2 separate regions of the Homo sapiens genome follow, and region 1 is linked to region 2. The links are contacts of gene promoters, found by promoter capture Hi-C in blood cells and fetal thymus (Javierre and others, 2016). All regions are on one chromosome and are shown on one strand. Each heading gives the region's core, a stretch centred on a gene start or on the middle of the fragment in contact. The rest is flanking DNA. Distances are from core to core; before and after follow the strand shown. Region 1 overlaps LINC01746 (long intergenic non-protein coding RNA 1746). Region 2 holds the start of TGM2 (transglutaminase 2).

Region 1 (2,745 bases), core at 194-2,693, 580 kb after region 2:
CACCCCATTCACAGCCATACACACAGTATTTAAATGTGGGTTCTCTCAAAGGAAAAGTCTAAGACTGGGATTTGGGTGCAAATAGTTTATGTGGGATCCTAGGAATCTCAGCAAGGATGACAGGAGACAAATGTGTATTCTGAGTGAGTTAACACCTGGGGTCTCTGGGGCTCCGTCCTGCTAGACATCCTCTGAAAGACCATGTGAGACGCACTTCAGAATTGTCTCTGAAGGGCAAGGAAGTTGTTGGTGCTTCTTTCAAATTCCTGGTTGGTTTCTTGTTGTTGTTGTTGTTTTGAGATGGAGTCTTGCTCTGTCGCCCAGGCCAGAGTGCAGTGTCAAGATCTTGGCTCACTGCAACCTCTACCTCCCGGGTTCAAGCGATTCTCCTGCCTCAGTCTCCCAAGTAGCTGGGATTACAGGCATGTGCCACCACAGTCGGCTAATTTTTTTTCTTTGTTTTCTTTTTCTTTTTTCTTTTTTGTATTTTAGCAGTGACACGGTTTCGCCATGTTGGCCAGGCTGGTCTCAAACTCCTGACCTCAAGTGATCTGCCCGCCTCGGCTTCCCAAAGTGCTGGGATTACAGGCGTGAGCCACCATGGCTGGCTTTCTCTACATCTCCTGTTCCTTGCTGACTGAAGGTTGCTCCTGGGCACTAATTCTGCATTTCTGGGCTAAGCGCACCCAGGAAGCACCCTTAGATAAAGACGCAGAAAACCATTACTGTGTGCAGGAGCTGTCTGAAAGGGACCTATGAGGTTCACTGAAAGTATCCACCACATCCAGGATATATCCTGATTCATGAGCTCTCCAAAACACGTGATCAATATTTGCACTGATTCCAAGAGCCACATGTTAAACATGTTAACATCCCTGAAATTGAGATATGCCTTACAATTAAAATTAATTTTTTCTTCCTTTTTAGTACATAAAATACTGTTTTCATTAATAGAATCTCAGACTTAGTGAAATATTTATTATAGGCTGGGCGCGGTGGCTCACACCTGTAATCCCAGCACTTTGGGAGGCCAAGGCAGGCAGACTACTTAAGGTCAGGAGTTCGAGACCAGCCTGGCCAACATGGTGAAACCCCATCTCTACTAAAAATACAAAATTAGCTGGGTTGTTGCGGCACATGCCTGTAATCCCAACTACTCTGGAGGCTGAGGTGGGAGAATCACTTGAATCCAAGAGGAGGAGATTGCAGTGAGCTGAGATCACACCACTGCACTCCAGCCTGGGCGAGAGAGCGAGACTCCATCTCAACAAAACAAAAACAAACAAAAAAAAAACAGAAATATTTACTATATACATATATATGCTGCCACATGCCTAGAGTATCTCTGGAAAGATACACAAGAAGAAAATAGCATGGCAGAACATTGACTTTTATGACAGTTTTATTGAGATATAATTCATATGCCATAAAATATATCCTTTTAAAGTGCGCATTCAGTGTCTTTAGTATATTCACAAAGTTGTACAATCACTATTTAATTCCAGAACATTTCCAACACCTCAAAAAGAAACCCCATACCCATTAGCAGTTAGACCTCATTTCTCCCTGCTCCCAGCCCTAGGCAACCACCAATCTACTTCCTGTCTCCATGGAGTTCCTTATTTTAGATCTCTCATATAAATGGAATCATACAATGTGTGGCCTTTTGTGTCTTCTTTCACTTAGCATAATGTTTTCAAGGGTCATCTACGTTGTAGCACCTTTCTTTTCATGACTGAATAATACCCTGTTGTATGGATATACCACATTTTGTTTACACATTCATCAGCTAATGGATGTTTGGGTTGCTTACACCTTTTGGCTATTATAAATAATGTAGCTATAAACATACATTAGTAAGTTTTTGTTTGAAAATAGGTTCATTTGACTGGATGTATACCTAAAAGTAAAATTGCTGGGTCCTATAGTAACTCTATGTCCAACTTTTTGAGAAACTGACAAAATGTTTCCATTTTATATTCCCATCATTAATGTATGAGGGTTTCAATTTCTCCAAATCCTTGCCAAGTAACACCTGTTATTGTCCTTTTTTCATTATTATACCCATCCTACTAGGTATAAAGTGGTACATTCACTTATTTCCTCTTTAATTTTTATTATGTAATTGTCTCTGCTTACTGTGGATTTAGTTTGCCCCTCTTTTTCTAATTTCTTTATGGAGGAAGTTTAGGTGACTGATTCGAGATCTTTATTTATTTTAATATAGGTGATTGTAGCTGTAAACTTTCCTCTAAGCACTGCCTAAGCAACATCCCATAAGTTGTGGTATGTTGTGTCTTCATTTTCATTCATCTCAAAATATTTTCTAGTTTTCCTTGTTATTTCTTTTTTGACTAATTGGCTAGTTAGTAGTGTGTTGTTTATATTTCCACATTTTTTTGGAAAGTGCTTTCCCAAAGTTCTTTCATTATGTTTTTATAATTAATTTCATTTTATGTGGTCAGAAAACATATTTTGTGTGATTTAAATCCTTTTGAACATATGAGACTAGTTCTGTGACCTAACATATTATCTATTTTAGAGAATGATCTATGCATACTTAAGAAAAATGCTGCTGTTGAGAGGAATATTCCATAGGTGTCTGTTAGGTCAAGTTAGTTTTTAATATTGTTCAGGTCTTTCATTTCCTTGTTGATCTTCTGCATAGGTATCGTATTCATTATTAAAAGTAGAATATTAAAGTTTCCATCTATTATTGTTGAATTGTCTATTTCTGCCTTCAAT
Region 2 (2,780 bases), core at 1-2,500:
GCTCAGGGCTCACAGTGGATCCGGAAGCACAGGAGACCAAGAGACCAGAGATACCAGGATGAGAGATAGGACCCCTGGTTGCCAGGTTCGAGAAGTCCTAGGCTGAGTCCCTGGAAAGTTAGTCTTGCTCCTTTCTGGCACACAGTGGGGCCTCAAGAAAGCTCAGTGGATGGATGGATTGAGGGAGGGAGGGAAGAGAAGGCCGAGGGAGGGATGGATGAAGGGATGAGTGGATGGATAGGTGGGGGGGTAGGTGATGCATGGGTGAGTGGATGGATGGGTAGATGGATGGCTGATTAGATGGATGGCTGATTAGACAGATACAAGGATGGGTGAGATCGGAGGATTATCTGGGTTTTGCTACAGGAAGGGACATGGGTGTGTCTGTTTTTGCAGGTGTGTCTGCATGTCTGTACCTGAGTCCATGCCTGCATGTGTGTCTACCTCTGAGTAGCCACATCTTTGTGTGTCTGTGGGTGCCCTCTCTGATTTTGCGTCCACATCTGACAGTGGCATTGGTGTCTAGGAGGTCTGTGTGTGTGCCAGGTGCCTCTGGACACCTGCTCATCTGTGTCCACAGCTGTGTGTGGCTCGCGGTCAAGGCTACCTGGCTGTGTCAGGCTGTATCTATGTCCTGGTGTGTGTCTGCCATTCGAATCTGAATTTGTATCCATGTCACTGTGTCTGCGTGGCCAGCCGTGTTTGGTGTATCTGTGGGAGTGTATCTGTGTTTGTGTGTGTATCTCCACAGCCCTGTCTTGGTGTGTCTGCGTCTGCTCTCTGTGTATGTATATCTGAGTATGTGTGTGAGTGTGTGCGTGTGTGTGTGTGTGTGTGTGTGTGTGTGTTGGGGGTGGGGAGGTGTTCTTGATCCCAGATCTGACCTAAGAGTCCACATCTGTGTGTCCAGGTGCACCCCGGTTCCGTTGTGTGTTTCTATGAGGGTGCTGCGTGTGTCTGTATCTGAGTGTGTGTGTCCAGGTGTCTGTTCTCCAAGGTCTGAGTCTGTGGGTCCAGGTGTGTCTGTATCCTGGGCTAGTTGTGTGTCCCTGTCCGCTCCCCCAGGGGGCGCCCTCGTCCGGCCGCCGTCCCTCCCTCGGGCTCCGGTCCCCTGGGTGAGCCCCAGCGCTGGCGGCGTGGGCCCGGGACTGGGCAATGGGTGGCCTCCCAGGTCGCCGCCTTCCCGCGGGGCCCCGCCCCCGGCCCGCCCCAAAGCGGGCTATAAGTTAGCGCCGCTCTCCGCCTCGGCAGTGCCAGCCGCCAGTGGTCGCACTTGGAGGGTCTCGCCGCCAGTGGAAGGAGCCACCGCCCCCGCCCGACCATGGCCGAGGGTGAGTATCAGAGTCACCGCAGCCGCCACTCAGGGGCCCCGGGGCATTGGGGGTCAGGACCCGGTGGGAGCTGAATCCCTAAGTCCTGATTTGGAGAGCAACAGGCAGACCGGGCTGGGTGAGGAGGCGTCTCAATGCTGCTTGGAGCCTCAGTTTCCCCATCCACACTGCATAACCATTAACCCTTGCCTCCCTGGATCAGGTGAGGCAATGGAACGCGACGGGGTGTTGTAAACTGTAAAGTACTGTCCTGGCGGACCACTGGCACGTGTCCTCAGTCAGTCAGTGGGGGCTGGCTCTCTGATGTGTGCCTGGAGCTGTGCAGGGGGTGCTGGCCTGGCCTCAGAACACTTAGGTTTGGGTGGTTCTTGCCAGCCAGGACCAGGTGGTGTGCATGCCACGCCGGTGGTGTGCAAGCCAAGCCTGGCTGAGTCCTTGGCTCCAGCGGCCAGAGAGGAGCTTTCGGCATCCTATCCAGGAGCCTTCGGAAATCAGGCTTGTTCTTCCCGCCCTCACGTTCTGCAACCCTAGACCTTGGCCAATTGTTGAGTCTCACCTATAAAATAAGGACAACAGTGTCCTTATTTTATAGGACAAGGTTTATGAGATTTGTTTTCCCCCAAGACCCCCACCCATCTGTCACCCTGACCGTGCCCTGGTCCTCTGCTCCAGCCTTTGGTGCATCTGTGAGGAACGAGAGGAGTGGAACAGAGGCTTAACTAATTTCATACTGGTGCCCCTGACTCCCTCCCCACACACAAGCAGCACTCTCGTAGGTCCCAGCTGGAGGGATTTCTACAATGGAGGATGTCACTGCTGGACCCAGAATCCCAGCTGGCTCTTGGGTCAAGTTCATCTGGGGATGGCTTCTGCACCCATTGCAACCCCCAGGAAGGGGTGTGGGACAGGGACATGGGGCAGGTGGAGCAGGAATGGGTGGCAGGAACTGTGGACCCACCTGACCCTGCTGTGTGATCTCAGCCACCTGCCTCCCTCGGGCCCAGCTCCCAACACACTGTGATGTGTCGCCTCGGTGGCCGCTTGTCCTCAATGCATCTTCTCACCCCCATGCTCAAAAGCAGGGCTCAGTGGGGCTGGGAGATCCTGGAGATGCCAGTTATGATGAGCCTCCAGCCCCATGTCACAGTGGCCACTTCTGACAGAGGTCTCACTGGCCTAGAAGGCCTAGGCCCTTTCTAAGTGCAGAAATCCTATAAATCCTACAATTCTAGACCTGCATCTTTGGAGCTGGGCGTGATTTCTGGAAACCCTTCTTCGGACAACAGATGGAGAAAATGCCCCAGCTCCCACAGCCCAGGGACTGGCCGTATCTCCAGGGTCTTCCATGGGAACAACAATGGCCTCTTTCCTGCTCAAGCTCCCTGGGTCTGAAGTTTCCAAAAACATTTCCTCGCCGCAATAGGCCAGCAGGAAGTTTTTCCTTCTGGC

Evidence for each region. The method cuts DNA at HindIII sites, captures the fragments that hold promoters and counts their contacts. A CHiCAGO score of 5 or more calls a contact.
Region 1: a fragment that was not itself captured here is called in contact with the fragment with the promoter of TGM2 in region 2 in 1 of 17 cell types (naive B cells); the score reaches 5.5 in naive B cells.

Annotation. Positions count from the first base shown.
Region 1 is chr20:37,587,581-37,590,325 of GRCh38, reverse strand. The region is part of intron 3 of LINC01746 (long intergenic non-protein coding RNA 1746); the gene reads right to left. Among named protein-coding and RNA genes, the nearest start is that of LINC01746, 18 kb to the right of the region's middle. The HindIII fragment of the contact is 6,757 bases long and covers 1-2,745 here.
Region 2 is chr20:38,163,740-38,166,519 of GRCh38, reverse strand. It overlaps TGM2 (transglutaminase 2), which reads left to right and starts at 1,250. Exons shown (of 13, transcript NM_004613.4): 1 at 1,250-1,331. The coding sequence starts at 1,322. RefSeq lists a silencer at 958-1,397. The HindIII fragment of the contact is 3,789 bases long and covers 1-2,780 here.